5 separate regions of the Homo sapiens genome follow, and all the other regions are linked to region 1. Evidence: promoter capture Hi-C in 16 types of primary human blood cells and fetal thymus (Javierre and others, 2016). All regions are on one chromosome and are shown on one strand. Each heading gives the region's core, a stretch centred on a gene start or on the middle of the fragment in contact. The rest is flanking DNA. Distances are from core to core; before and after follow the strand shown. Region 1 holds the start of PCDHB1 (protocadherin beta 1). Region 2 overlaps LOC105378198 (a long non-coding RNA gene). Region 3 holds the start of PCDHGA4 (protocadherin gamma subfamily A, 4). Region 4 overlaps PCDHGA1 (protocadherin gamma subfamily A, 1). Region 5 has its middle 5.1 kb from the start of TAF7.

Region 1 (2,824 bases), core at 155-2,654:
GTCTCGGCAGACAAGCTAGGTGGTCCAGTATCCATGGCAACAATGGTGATATTATAGCCTGAGACCTCCTCCCGATCCAAGCTTCTGTCAGTGACCAGTGAGTAAGAATTCCCAAATGTAGGTTTGATTACAAAGGGAAGGTCTTCTCTGAGGAAGCAGGTGACTTTTCCTCCCACTCGAATGTCCCGGTCTCTGATAGTGAAAAGGGCTACTACTGTCTGTGGTGGTGAGTCTTCAGGGAGTGGGCTGGACACAGAGGAGACCATCACTTCGGGAGGATTGTCATTCACATCCACCACTTCTACCAGGACTTTGCTGTGGGCAGAGAGGCCTCCACCATCTGTAGCTTGAATGTCAATGTCGTATGTTTCAATGGCTTCAAAATCGAGGGGTCCTCTTAGTCGAACTTCTCCATTTTGAGGGTCAATCTGAAACGTCTTGAGAATTGCTTCTGGGTTTTGAGCTAAAGAGTAAGTTATCGCTTTGTTGGTGCCCTCGTCTAGGTCCACGGCAGTCACCGTGGCCACCAAAGAGCCATTGGGGCTGTTCTCTGATACCTGGGCTCTGTACACCAGTCGCGAGAACTGGGGCACGTGGTCGTTGACATCCAGAACCACCACGTGGATGTGAGCTGTGCCAGACTTAGGCGGGGACCCGCCGTCCACCGCCGTAATTGTCAAGTTGACTTCAGGCTGCTCCTCTCGGTCCAGGGGTTTGTTCAGCACCAGCTCAGCATATTTAGGCCCGTGGCTGCAGAAGCGGGTGTGCAGGTGGAAATACCCATTGGCACTCAGGGTGTAGTTCTGGAGACCGTTAAGGCCCACGTCCAGATCCTGGGCGCTCTGCAGAGGAAAACGTGAACCCAAAGGGGTGCTCTCCGGAATCTTTAAAAGCGGCTCCTTGTTTAGGAAAACTGGGGCATTGTCATTGATATCAAATACCCTGACCTCGGCCCGGAAGGACTGCAGCGGCTCCACCAGGACTACTTCAAAGTGCAGAACACAAGGGTCGGCTTTGCCACAAAGTGACTCCCGATCCAGTTTCTCCTTCACAAACAAATCTCCCGTCTTGCGGTGGAGCCGGAAATGCATTTTGTTGCCCTCGGAAACCAGCCGCGCCCCGCGCGCAGCCAGCTTCCCTACCTCCAGTCCTAGGTCCTTAGCTACGTTGGCCACAAACGAGCCGCTCTCCATTTCCTCTGCCACTGAATAGCGGATAGTTGTCGCATCCCCCACAGATATGCACAGAAAAATGAGAAGAGATCCCACTTGCCTGTTTTGCAAAGATTTTCTGCGCGTACCCGCCATCAGTTCTCACAAGCGCGCTCTCTGCAATCAGAGCCAACTGTTGCGGATATACTTTCACTTTTCTGCAACAGGTTACTGCAACAGCTGCTCTCCGCTTCACTAGCCTCTAACTGCAGCACCACCAAAGGCTAGCCGAGCCCATTAAGCTGTTTTGCACTTGAAAGAAAATTTGCATTGAGCGACTCAACTCCCCAGTCTAGCGAATGTATTAATAGATATGTTCTCATTCCGGAGAGTTAGGTAGAGGTTGAAAGTTTGTTGCCAAAGCAACAACAGACTCACCTGTTAATTCCCTTTCAGGAAAAAAAGTCCTTGGGAATTGAGAAGCCAATGAGATTAGTCGTTCAAGCTGAAGTCATTCTATCTGCTAGCTGTCTGGAGCCACTGAAGCTGTGGGCGAACAGCAACAAGTTTAAGCTACATCTGCACACTCTGCGGTCCATCCAGAGACCAAGAAAGAAGCACAAGGATCCTGCAGAGTCTTCCGAAGCCCAAGCCAAATATATGAGGCAGGGAGCTAGAGAATGTGGAGGAAGTGGTCAGTAGGAAAAGGAATGGGAACAGACATTCTCCTTCAGAAACTTGAGGTCCAGTAAGTACACTGACAGGGGACTAAGCCAACTGACCTCTTGATTTGCACTACGCTATCATGCTACTTCTACGTATTCGCTCCGCCCCCCTCCAAATATCTGTATACACGTGCACAAAGGGAGCAGCTGGCTTGTCACTTATGATTATAATGGCAGTAGTATTTATTGGATATGATTTCCATGTACTGAGACTATGACAAGTGATTTACATGCATTATTTAATTTAATACTTGCAACAACTATATGGAGTAGACATTATTAAAAAAAAAAAAAGACAAAGAAAGTGAGATGGGAGAGGTTATGTCAAGGTCCCCTACCTAGCAAATGTTAGAAATAAAACTCAATTTAATTTTGTCTGACTCCGAAGTCTATGCTCTTAATCAGTACACTACTCTGCTTCCCAGATAATATAATGAATAAATCAAATGAAGATAAATATTTGGTTTTGGATTTTAAAGCAAATAAAATAAGATTGCTTACACATATTGAAAATGACCTAATAGAAATATAGGAGATATTTGTTGAGTTTCCTTTATGATCATAGGATAATAGAATGTTTAATAAGACATTTCAGAAAGATGAGATCCAGTCTCCTTCTCACCCACTCTCCACTTTAAAAAAAAAAAAAAACAGATGAAGAAACTAAGGCCCGAAGTGATGAAGTCACTTGCCCAATTCATACAGCTACTCATGGCAGTGTAAGAACTAGAACTTGTCTTCTGATGCTGTCTCATGCTCATTACCTAAAACATTTGATTTCTCATTTGTGCTCAATACTTTATGTCCCAGGTGCTATAAAATTATGGCCACTTAACGGAAATCTAACTATATTTTCCAATAGGAAAAAAAGAATGAAAGTAGAAAGTGTACAGAACATTAATTACATCCTGACATGAGGGAATTAATGAATCTCTCAATCTCTGTCAG
Region 2 (2,824 bases), core at 197-2,696, 310 kb after region 1:
TTCTGCCTCATCTTTCTTAGGGCAGAACTGCAAGCCATAAACTTCTTAGTTGCAAATGGACTCAGCTCCTCAGCAACAGGGTGTCTCATTACTCAGGTTGCCATCCCCTTTTGTATTGGTGCTGTCCTGTGGGAGAGCTGGAAATTCTGCTTATTTCCTTTTGTGTCTATGTAAGTAATAAACTGTCTGAATCAAACAAGGACTGCTGTTTCTTTACTAATCAAAGCTGCTAGGATTTGCCTGAGAATGGGTTCTTATTTTTCCTTGAAGTTCTGTTTCAAAATAGTTTCTTTTTCAAACCTTGTCAACTTGTCTTGGCAACCAGGGATTTGGTTCATATCTGGGAGAGATGACAGTAGTGAGAAGCTGCTCAGAGGAACTGTGGGGATCTGGAAATTTGGTGAAGAGCAGATTTACTCATGGAGTAGGTCTCAAAAGACTCTTACCAAGGCTAACCTCCAGAGTTTCTGTCCCAACCTTAAACCTCTTCAGCTCCTGACCCAGCCTAGTCTTCTCAGGAATCCATGCCGTTTTAGACCCCTCCTTGAAAAAGGGCTCTCTCCCATCTCCAAGAAAATGATAAGCTTGGTGGGGACATACATAGAGGACTAAAGAGGGTCCATGGACATCAAACCTGCCCCCAAAACACAGACAGGAAGAAGCATGCAAATATATCACTGAGATAATGCAGAAAGTAGATTGAATTTGGAGTTCCTTGACAGATAAGTGTCATGAGTTGGTATACCCTGGGCAGTAGGGTCAGCCTAGGCCTGAATGGTTCAAGAACGATGCTGAGTTTTAAGTTTCCTTCTACCCACCACAACTTCCAGACCAGGACACACAAACTTGGGAAGCCCCCATTTGAGGATGCACACCACTGAGAGAAACCCATGTCTTCCTTTCCCTAAAAACTGTTCCCCCAGCTGTGTCTAGGCTCACTCTCCCTCCTCCCACTCAGTGGCTACCTGCCACAAGTCTTGGACCAGCCTCAGTGCTTCCCAGATGACCAAACCGGGGTCATTTTAGCTCAAATCAACTTTCACAGCCAGTACATGAGTCAGACCCATGAAATCCTCCCAAACTGCCAAATGCCAGCCTTGGGTCTTTAAAGCTACCAGAGCTTCATTGTTACCTGGTTACTAGGTAATAACCCACAACAATTACTCCTCTCTGGATCTGGGCCTAAACATTCTGGTATCTTATAGCTCTTTTGTATTAATACTTTCTCTGATTACCTGAAATGATATACCACATAGAAAACTGTACTAAGAGTTATTGAAGAATGTGCAAAAAATTAACAAGAGGTCCAAGGAAAACTAAGCACATGAAGAAAAGTCAAGCATTAACTTCAGGAAAAGTAGAAAGAAGAAAAGGAGACAATCATGGTATATGACCATGTTCTGCTGGGAATTATATTTTGCAAAGGCATAAAAATGTTAACATGAATATTCATCTAACAAAGAATTGTTAGGGCCAGGCACAGTGGCTCACACCTATAATCCCAACACTTTGGGAGGCCGAGGTAGGAGGATGGCTTGAGCCCAGGAGTTCGAGATCATCCCATGCAACACAGTGAGACCTCATCGCGACTAAAAATAAAAAATTAGCTGGGCGTGTGGTATGTGCCTGTGGTCCCAGATTCTTGAGAGGTTGAGGCAGGAGGATCGCTTGAGCCCAGGAGGTGGAAGCTGCAGTGAGCCATGATCGCACCACTGCATTCCAGCCTGGGTGAGAGAGCAAGAGCCTGTCTCAATAAAAGAAAAAGAAAGAAAAGAAAAATTAAGTCATTTCAATCATATACAAACTATCCTAATTAATAAGAAGGAACACTTCCTAAATGATTTTCTAATGCTAAAATAACCTGATAGTGAATCCTATTGTAAAAAATACACACAAAAAAGGAAAAGCCCAGTCTAATGTCATTAATGTAAATAAATGAAAAAAAACCCATACTAATTATTAGAAAATTAAATCCAGTAGTACATAAAAAAGAATAATACAGCATAAGTAGAATTTCTCCAAGATATGAGGTTGACTTAACATTATAAAAGTAATTAGTATATATGCAAAGTTAATGAACTAAAGGGAAAATCATGATTATCTATGTACATGCAGAAAAATTACTTAATAAAATTCAACAACCTTTCATGATTTTAAAATAATCTTAATTAATCTTAAGATTTTTAGCAGATATTAGTTGTATCCTTAGGCATATAAGAGAATATTTGTAACTTGGTAAGGGTGTCCAGGGGAAAAAAAAAAAGCTAAAGCAAACATCATACTTAATGGTGAAATGATTAAAGCTTTCCCTTTGAAATCCAGAACAAGACAGGGATGTCTGCTATCATCACTTTAATCATCCTGTCGTCATTGTTCCAAAGGGCCTAACCAGTGTATACAACAAGAGAAAAATATAAAGGTCTGAGGTGTTCATATGGCATTCTCCATGGTTAGAAAAAGAAGGGGAAAAGTATAAGGAGGTTATTCCGTAGGATTTTGGGGAACAGGTGGTATTTGGTTACGTGAGTAAGTTCTTTAGTGGTGATTTGTGAGATATTGGTGTACCCGTCACCAGAGCAGTATACATTGAACTCAATTTGTAGTCTTTTATCCCTCACCCACTTCCCACCCTACACCCCTGAGTCCCCAAAGTGCACTGTATCATTCTTATGCCTTTGCAGCCTCATAGCTTAGCTCCCACTTATGAGTGAGAAGATACACCTTCTTATATGAAACTTTTTTATTTAGAGTTAAAACTCTGTATGTTTAGAGTTAATACGAGTATAAAACTCTCCTTATTTAGAGTTAATATGATTATAAACAT
Region 3 (2,824 bases), core at 117-2,616, 300 kb before region 1:
GGCAGTGCCAGAGCGAACCGGGTCACCTCCATCGAAGGCCGTGAGAACGAGGTGGTGAACCGCCTCTTCCTCGCGATCTAGAGCGCGTTCCAGCACCAGCTCTGGGTACTTAATCCCATCGGCCCCACTTTGCACGTCCAGGGAAAAGTAACCGTTTGAGTTGAGCTGGTAACCCTGCAGGGAGTTTACACCTACATCCGGATCAAAAGCTTCAGGAAGAGGAAATCTTGCCCCAGGATTTTCATTTTCAGCAACTTTTATTTCCCTCTGTTCTGTCCCAAAACTGGGTGGGTTATCATTAACATCGATTATTTCCACCTCTACCCGCAAAATCTTCACTGTATCTTCTAGAAGAATCTCCAGGTTTGTCACACAGTTTGGAGATCTGTCGCAGAGCTCCTCCCTGTCTATCCTACCCGCGGTGACCAAGGTGCCGCTGCGCGGGTTCAGGGCGAAAAGCTGCGTCCTACCTCTGGAGACGATGCGGACTCCGCGCTCCGCCAGCTCCCGGGGCGCCAACCCCAGGTCCTTGGCGATGTTGCCCACCACTGAGCCTTCTTCCTGCTCCTCAAACACCGAGTAGAGAATCTGTTCGGCCCTGATTTCCACCAGAACCCCCAGGAGAAGGCAGATCTGGAGCAGCCGGGTGTGGTCTGGGCGAGCAGGAGGCGCCGCCATTACAACCCCGCCGCGGAGTCGCCTGTGCTTCGGTTTTCCCTCTGTCGAGGCCTGAGGAGCCCCAGGATCTTCTGGGTCCAAAATAAAGTGCATTCACAGCCAGAGCTCTCAGGGCTTCCGCTTGAAGCTTTCATAAAGCTCCAGAGCCAGTGCTTTGTGCTGCAGAAATCTTGTGATTCTGATTAAATTTCTGGTTTGTCTTTTCCCCCTGATTGGTGAACAGCGACACCCAGAGTCTTAACCTGTTACTGCAATTTATTCTTGGTTAAAAAAAGTTTATTTTTTATACACTTTTCTATTCCTATTTCTCCCAAGATAATAAAGTCAAATTCCTGTTTTTGATTTGCAATGAAAATTCAAGAATGATCCAAGTCTTCCTGTACAATAAACTTTATGAAGTTATTTATTTTCTTAGAGAAAATATGACGATTTTTTTCCTAAGATGTGTTCTTCCTCTTTTCAGTTTTCACATTGTTCATCCCCACAGCCCATTCTCAGTATAGCGTATTGTGTGAGGGACATAATTATCTCTCCTAAAGACAAAGGTGGACTTGAAAAATGGATGAGACAGATAAGTGAAAAGACAGTGGGACAGGAACTTGGAGGTCTGGCTTTAGTCCCAATTTATGCAGTAACAAGTTTCCTCACAGGAGTTGACCCTCTAGAACCTGGGGCAATGCTTCAATTCCCTTGCAAAAAACTCACCTACTGTTCAAGAGTTAGCCTTACCCTGTACAAATGAGATTGACAAATAGGATAATAGGTTTGGGAAGAGAATTTGCTCCTTAATTTTGTGTACAGTAGATTCTTGGCCACAAGCTATGCATATGACTATCTTGTTCACAATGTGTTCTCAATCTTTAGAACAATACCTTTCATAGAGTAGTAATTTTTATGAAACCTTTCAATGTTTCATGAATGACCAGTTCAAATGCAAAGCCTAAAACAATGGGTAAATAACTCTGATCTTAAAAATAAAAAAGAAATAAAAAGAAAAGTTAGACTGAATAACTATAAAGTGCAGATAATAGTTTAGTGATTTTTTCACATGACACATTCAGTATTATTTTACAATTTCTAACTTTACTTTAGCTCTCATTTTAGAAATAGCCAGTAAAAGGAAATGTTTTGGTAGCCGAACATGGATTATCATTGCATGTGCCATCGCTTTCTTTCTTATGAATACTTACAGTAATTTACTAATCTGTGAAAATTTGAGATAAAGCAGTACATCAGTTCTTAAGCTTATTCCTCACTTAACAATTAGCAGTAGAAATGACTCATACAAAAGGGCATTAGCTATACAGAATTTAAAAACCCTCAGACTTTGAGAGAGTAGATTAAACGTGTTTTTCACAATCCTCAAAGACCGCACAAACTGCGGATGATTGAGAGGTGAAATAAGATGTTTGGAAATAAATTTGACAGTATGCATTAAAAAAATCTCAACATGTTTATAGATTTAACTAATTCCTCAGAAATCTACACTAAAGAAACAAGAAGTATGGAAAACGCTTTATAAACCCAAATGTTCATTACATTCTTTGTTTTAATAGAGACAAAATAGAAAGAGCATAAAAACAAATAATTTAGGAATGGTTAAGAAAATTATGAAATATCATTGACTGAAATTATAGAGTGGGAATAATATTGACTCAAAGTTAGTGATGCAAATATAAAATTGGACAATATTTGCTACTTGTGATGAGACAAAGTGTTAAGAGTCTTAATAATTGGAAGGCTGTATTAAACATACATGTTGCTGCAAAAAGACAAACTAGAATGTAATTGATGAAGATTACATTAATTACATAATTACATTAATACATAATTACATCAATTACATAATTAATGTAATTGATGAACTTTAACTTGGGTGGGAAGAACTCTAAATACATTTATAAAGAGCTAAGAATAAAATGACTTGAAAATATAGTATTGCATATCAACTAAGAAAAGGCACTGCTATTACTAAGTGTTAACATCTAGGAAACAGGTCTCTTTAGCAAGATTTGCCAACCATACAGAAATGCCAACAGTAAAGATTGAAAATTAAATTGCCAAGACTACTGAGCAATCAAGAAAGCAATCTCCATCTATCTAGTACCCCCTCCCGCAGTAGATACCATCACTAGAACAATGAAAG
Region 4 (2,824 bases), core at 182-2,681, 280 kb before region 1:
CTCTCTCTCTTGGTCTACACAGCTTACGAAGAAAGTTATAACCACCGGAATTGGGAAACAGCTTTTATTATTATATTTATTTATTTAACAGGGTGTGGCTCTGTCGCCCAGGCTGGAGGGCAGTGGCGCGATCACGGTTCGCTGAAGCCTTGACTTCCTGGGCTCAAGGGATCCTCCCACGTCAGCTCCTGCCCCGCCCCGCCCCGCCCCTCCCCGCCCCGCGTAGCTGGGACTACAGTCGCAGGCCGCCCTGTCCGGCTGGTCTTGAACTCCAGGGCTCCAAGGATCTTTCCGCCTCAGCCTCTCAAATTGTTGGAAATACAGACGTGAGCCACTGCGCCCAGCTAGGCAGCATGTTAATGCATCTTTCTTTTCCTTTTTAACCAGCTGAAGGGCCTCATTGCTTATTTTGGATTCAGGCAGTAAGCCTGGTCCAGATATTTATCTAGTCTGAAGCACTTCTGTCCCTATTACATTGCTGGAGGCAGTTTCCTAACCTTCAATTTCTGCTTTTAAGTCCAAGACTATAACTCACATGGCTTTAGACTAGCTCACCACTTTGCTTTTGCTTTCCTCTTATATTTTATGTATCTCTGTATTTTATTGGAGCAGAGTAAATACATCAAAGCATGGACTTACTCCCCGACCATACTTTTTTTTTCTTCTGAAAAGTTAACACACATTAAAATAGGATATATACTTGATTTTTGTTAGCTGATTTCATTACAGGTATAATGTATAAGTCAGGAGGCTTCAAAGATATTTCTCAAGTTGCATGATAAATTTTGTGTTGTTCATTTTGTTACTTCATACATTACTTAAATAGACGTATTCTTCAGTACAGGCACCACAGCTCACACCTGTAATATCAGCACTTTGAGAGGCTGAGGTGGGAGGATCGCTTGAGCCCAGGAGGTAGTGGCTGCAGTGAGCCATGATCATGCCACTGCACTCTAGCATGACCCCATCTCAAAACCAAAAAAATCTGATAATAAAGATAGAATAAAAGGCTAAAATATTCAACAATAATTTAAAATTGCAGTTTATATAGATCTCTATAATCTTATATGAACACAACTAAAAATACTACTTTAGACAATCTTCACCTCTTCAAATGTCCCCAAATAAACTATCACAGTGTCCTGACAGATGACATCTACATTAAATTCAGGGGTAGATTAGCAGGTACTTATAAAAAGAAAATTTGAAAATAGTGTTAGTCATTTAAATATTGGTGAGCCTTTTCTAATCAAACCTTTTAGCCCAGAGGCAAGTAAGAAAATGTTAGAAGCTAGATCGCCGTTTCTAATGCAGTGCTCTTTCCAAACAGAGATGGCATCTCACACATACCTTCAACCCAACCACCTACATTATGATCACAGTCTCCTTTTCAGTGCAAGAACAATTATAAATATACCTGCATATGAACGTGTAGACTCAATCGTGATTTTGCAGGACTTGTAATAAAAAGCTACAAAGATACATGGGTTAGAAGAACTATCTGTAGCAAAGAGCGAACGCTAGTAAGTTAAATCAAGAATTATTTTTCTCTAGATAGCTGATACATTCATCACAAAAGTTTACCTGAGAAAATGGTTCCTTTTTGTCTTCAAGTAAAGACTGGGGTGCTGATAGAAAACCCTTTTTCTCACAGCTCTCCTGGCTGATGAGTGTGTCCGCATAGTTGGGCTGGGGGAAAATCAGGTGGCTCTTCCGCGAGTCCGCAGTGAGGGAGACCTCGTGGGAATAGGTCTGCAGGAAAGCCCGAACCCCGTCCACGCCCACAAAGTGCGAACCGGGCATGCTCGCTAAGCCGCCTCCCGAAGCCTGTAGCAGACGTGACTTGTGCCAGCGCCGCAGCCTGTGCGCCAGCAGCACGATGACGAAGGCCAGGAAGACGCAGGAGACCGCGGCCGCCGCCACCACCAGGTACAGAGTGAGGTCCGAATCGTTGGGTTTGGCGGAGGGCTCGAGGCTGCCCAGGTCGGCCAGGATGTCGGAGATCCTGTCGGCCACGGCCACGGTGAGCGTGACAGTGGCGGAGAGCGGGGGCTGGCCGTGGTCCTGGACGGCCACCACGAGACTCTGCTTGAGCGCGTCTCTGTCCAGCAGGGCTCGCGCCGTGCGCACCTCGCCCGTGTGCAGACCCACCGAGAAGAGTCCCGGCTCGCTGGCCTTGAGCAGGCGGTAGGACAGCCAGGCGTTCTGGCCCGAGTCTCTGTCCACCGCCACCACCTTGGTCACCAGGTAGCCGGGCTCTGCGGAGAGGGGCGCCAGCTCCACGCCGGTAGAACCATCTGTGGGGAGGGCGGGGTACAGGATCTCGGGCGCGTTGTCGTTCTGGTCCAGCAGGAATAGGCTGAGAGACACGTTGCTGCTGAGGGGCGGATCCCCACTGTCCCGCGCCATCACTTTCAGTTGCATGTCCCGGAACTGCTCATAGTCGAAGGATCGCAGCGCATACAGGACCCCAGTGTCGGAGTTGATGGAGAGGTAGGCAGATAGGGGTGCCCCCTGGATAGTGTCCTCTATTAGGGAGTAAGTGATTTGTGCATTCTCATTGCTGTCCAAGTCGTGGGCCCTCACAGAGAAGATGGAGGCTCCTCTGGGGTTGTTTTCGGGAATGTAGGCAGAGTAGGAGTCCTGATGGAAGACTGGGGAGTTGTCATTGATATCTGTCACTAGTAGTGAAATGTGAGTTTCAGTAGATAGAGCTGGAGTTCCTTGGTCTATTGCTGTTATTGTGATGTTGTACCCAGAGATAAGTTCTCTGTCCAGTGTTCTTTCAGTCACTAAACGGTAATAATTATCAACTAACTTTTCC
Region 5 (2,824 bases), core at 181-2,680, 260 kb before region 1:
TTTTAAGTGAAACGTTTTTATGAGTAAGTTTTTTTTTTTTTTTTAGATGGAGTCTTGCTGTGTTGCCAGGCTGGAGTGCAGTGGCGTTATCTTGGCTCATTGCAACCTCTGCCTCCTGGGTTCAAGCGATTCTCCTGCCTCAGCCTCTGGAGTAGCTGGGACTACAGGCATGTGCCACCAAGCCCAGCTAATTTTTGTAATTTTAGTAGAGACGGGGTTTCACCATGTTGGCCAGGATGGTCTTGATCTCTTGACCTTGTGATCCACCCGCCTCGGCCTCCCAAAGTGCTGGGATTACAGGCGTGGGCCACCGTGCCTGGCCGTGACTAGGATTTTAGCACAGAATATGTAAGCTTAAGCAAGGTTTCCCTCAATATCTAGGTTTTATATTATTTCTTGAGGTTTCCAAATAATATATATTAAACAACAACAAAAAAACAGTTTAGGATGCTAGGTGACAAAATTTACTGTTTTTGTAATCTAGGTATTTTGCTACACTTAGAAGATTGACACCTGAAAAGCTCCCACCATATCTGGCTTTACAGTGGATCATTTATCAAGTAGTTTATTCTTACCAAGGTCTCAACACCAATGGTGGCAGTTCCATCAATAACAGAAAGGAAAGATTCTGGATACAATAACAAAATAGTATATTGATCTCACTATTCCTGTTTCAGTTATGAGTTCTAAGTGGATTCTAAAATCCACGTTTCCAACCTTGATTCTTCTGTGCTTCAGGTTTAGTTTAGCCAGATGTGTACTAGAAACATACTTGAAAGTATCTCTCAGGCAACTCAAGTGTAAATGTTCAAAATGGCCGGGTGCAGTGGCTCATGCCTATATCTCAACACCTTGGGAGGCTGAGGCAGGTGGATCACCTGAGGTCAGGAGTTCAAGACCAGCCTGGCCAACATGGCAAAACCCATCTCTATTAAAAATACAAAACAAATTAGCTGGGCATGGTGGTGGGCACCTGTAATCCCAGCTACTTGGGAGGGTGAGGTGGGAGAATAGCTTGAACCTGGGAGGTGGATGTTGCAGTGAGCCGAGATCATGCTACTGTGCTCCAGCCTGGGCAACAGAACAAAACTCCATCTCAAAAAAAAAAATACAGGTTCAAAATGGAACTTTTCCTCTTCCTTGAAAATTTGCTTTTCCTTCTGGGTTCCAGTAAAAATAAATGGCACCACCACACATCCCAACTGTGGAAGCTGGACACTAGAGCCATAACTTTACATTTCTCCCTTTCCCTTGCTACTTTTGATTTTACTTAAGAAGTTCTTCACTCACTCTACTTCATCCTTACAGCCACTGTCCTATTTCAAGCCATTATTATTATCTATCAAATGGCAATAGCTTCTTTACCATCCAATTTAGTTTTCACTGCCACCAAACTCATTTTTCTGAGACATATTTGATTGTGTTACTACCATGCTGAAAACCCTTCAGTGACATCTCATTGCTCTCAGGGCTAGGTTTGTATTTCTCAAAAAGATGCACAAGATTATGAGTTCTCCATTTACCTTTTCAGCCTCAGCTCCGCATTCAGTATATGGTCAGTCCACTCTGAACTTACATTTTTTTCAAGGAGCTTACTCATTCTCCCACTCCTGGGCCATAGATCCTTTTAACAAGCAGTTCACTCCACCTAGATGACTTTACCCTTTGTCTGAGTCCTACTTAACCCTCAGGTCTCAACCTAAGTGACTTCAGCAAGGCTTTTCTGACCCTTTTCTCCCTCTAGGTTAAGCAACCCTATTACGGCTTTGCACTTTGTTCTTCCCTCTCTCATTTATTTGACAAACATTTTGTGTGTGTGTGTGCCAAACTACAAGGGGTGTGTGTGTGTGTGTGTGTGTGTGTGCGCGCGCACCAAACTACAAGCTACTGGATATGCAGTGATGAACAAAGCATTTAGTGTCTATAAACTCATGCACTGCACGGTCTACTGGGATGAGTATCTGTTATAACTAAAGTGTAAATTACCTTTGTTCGTATCTCCTGCTTGGCTTTAAATTTACTGAGATATTTTGCTACATTAGTGACTGTAAACTTACTGAAGAATAGTAGAAAGATCAAAATCTTAACATCAAGACATGTCATGCATGGTTCGTATCCTAGCTCAGTTACCTATTAGTTGTGTGACCTTGCACAGGTAGCAATCTGTTTACCTCAATTTTCTCATCTCCAAAGTGGAGGCAATAATACTACCTACCTCATAGGGTTATTGGGCTGTTGGCTGCTGGCTGCTGAATCATATAAATGACTTATTTAGAACAATGCCTGGAACATAGTAAGTAAACAACAGAAGTAAATTTACCACTATTACAACCCATTAAGGTATGGACCATAACAGATACTAAATAATTAAAGAGTGACTGAAATGTTAGAAAAAGTGTTTATAGGGAAACAACTATTCTAAATGTAATTGTTTTCAAATTTAAGAAATTTTAGAGATCAGTTTCAACCAAATTCAGATGGGAAAAAAAATTCTAAATGAAAGCTTATAAATTAGGTTACAGCAGAAACGGTTTGCTTCAAATTTATCTGCAGCATAAACAAATTTACTCAGCTCTTTCCTCCTACAGTTTAGCACTTACAGTTCTCTTTTCTTGGAATAGTCACCAGATATTCTCATGGATAGCTTTTTGTCACTGAAGGCCCAACTCAACCCTTATTTTCTCTGGTAACCCTATCTGGCCATTCAATCTAATTCTTAAGAAGCATGTGATTTAGATGTTTCATCATGTCAGGTGCTATGTCAAGTGCAGTGGTCTTCATTAAAAAGTTGGAAGGTTCTTTGCTACTATTTTCTAATATATGT

Evidence for each region. The method cuts DNA at HindIII sites, captures the fragments that hold promoters and counts their contacts. A CHiCAGO score of 5 or more calls a contact.
Region 2: a contact is called between a fragment that was not itself captured here and the fragment with the promoter of PCDHB1 in region 1, in 1 of 17 cell types (M1 macrophages). The highest score is 5.3, in M1 macrophages.
Region 3: a fragment that was not itself captured here is called in contact with the fragment with the promoter of PCDHB1 in region 1 in 1 of 17 cell types (M0 macrophages); the score reaches 5.6 in M0 macrophages.
Region 4: a contact is called between a fragment that was not itself captured here and the fragment with the promoter of PCDHB1 in region 1, in 1 of 17 cell types (M1 macrophages). The highest score is 5.7, in M1 macrophages.
Region 5: a fragment that was not itself captured here is called in contact with the fragment with the promoter of PCDHB1 in region 1 in 1 of 17 cell types (M1 macrophages); the score reaches 5.3 in M1 macrophages.

What each region holds. Positions count from the first base shown.
Region 1 is chr5:141,049,954-141,052,777 of GRCh38, reverse strand. It overlaps PCDHB1 (protocadherin beta 1), which reads right to left and starts at 1,404. Exons shown (of 1, transcript NM_013340.4): 1 at 1-1,404. The coding sequence starts at 1,307. PCDHB1-AS1 (PCDHB1 antisense RNA 1) reads left to right here. Exons shown (of 4, transcript NR_105056.2): 3 at 1,608-1,899. It also overlaps PCDHB@. RefSeq lists an enhancer at 995-1,823. The HindIII fragment of the contact is 4,524 bases long and covers 84-2,824 here.
Region 2 is chr5:140,739,331-140,742,154 of GRCh38, reverse strand. All of the region lies in intron 3 of LOC105378198 (a long non-coding RNA gene), which reads right to left. Among named protein-coding and RNA genes, the nearest start is that of ZMAT2, 40 kb to the right of the region's middle. The HindIII fragment of the contact is 1,719 bases long and covers 587-2,305 here.
Region 3 is chr5:141,353,055-141,355,878 of GRCh38, reverse strand. The region is part of intron 1 of PCDHGA1 (protocadherin gamma subfamily A, 1); the gene reads right to left. All of the region lies in intron 1 of PCDHGA2 (protocadherin gamma subfamily A, 2), which reads right to left. All of the region lies in intron 1 of PCDHGA3 (protocadherin gamma subfamily A, 3), which reads right to left. All of the region lies in intron 1 of PCDHGB1 (protocadherin gamma subfamily B, 1), which reads right to left. It also overlaps PCDHGA4 and PCDHG@. The HindIII fragment of the contact is 1,117 bases long and covers 808-1,924 here.
Region 4 is chr5:141,331,866-141,334,689 of GRCh38, reverse strand. It overlaps PCDHGA1 (protocadherin gamma subfamily A, 1), which reads right to left. Exons shown (of 4, transcript NM_018912.3): 1 at 1,585-2,824. It also overlaps PCDHG@. Among named protein-coding and RNA genes, the nearest start is that of PCDHGA1, 2.8 kb to the right of the region's middle. RefSeq lists a silencer at 791-1,020. The HindIII fragment of the contact is 4,462 bases long and covers 1-2,824 here.
Region 5 is chr5:141,314,313-141,317,136 of GRCh38, reverse strand. No RefSeq gene overlaps it. Among named protein-coding and RNA genes, the nearest start is that of TAF7, 5.1 kb to the left of the region's middle. The HindIII fragment of the contact is 2,150 bases long and covers 356-2,505 here.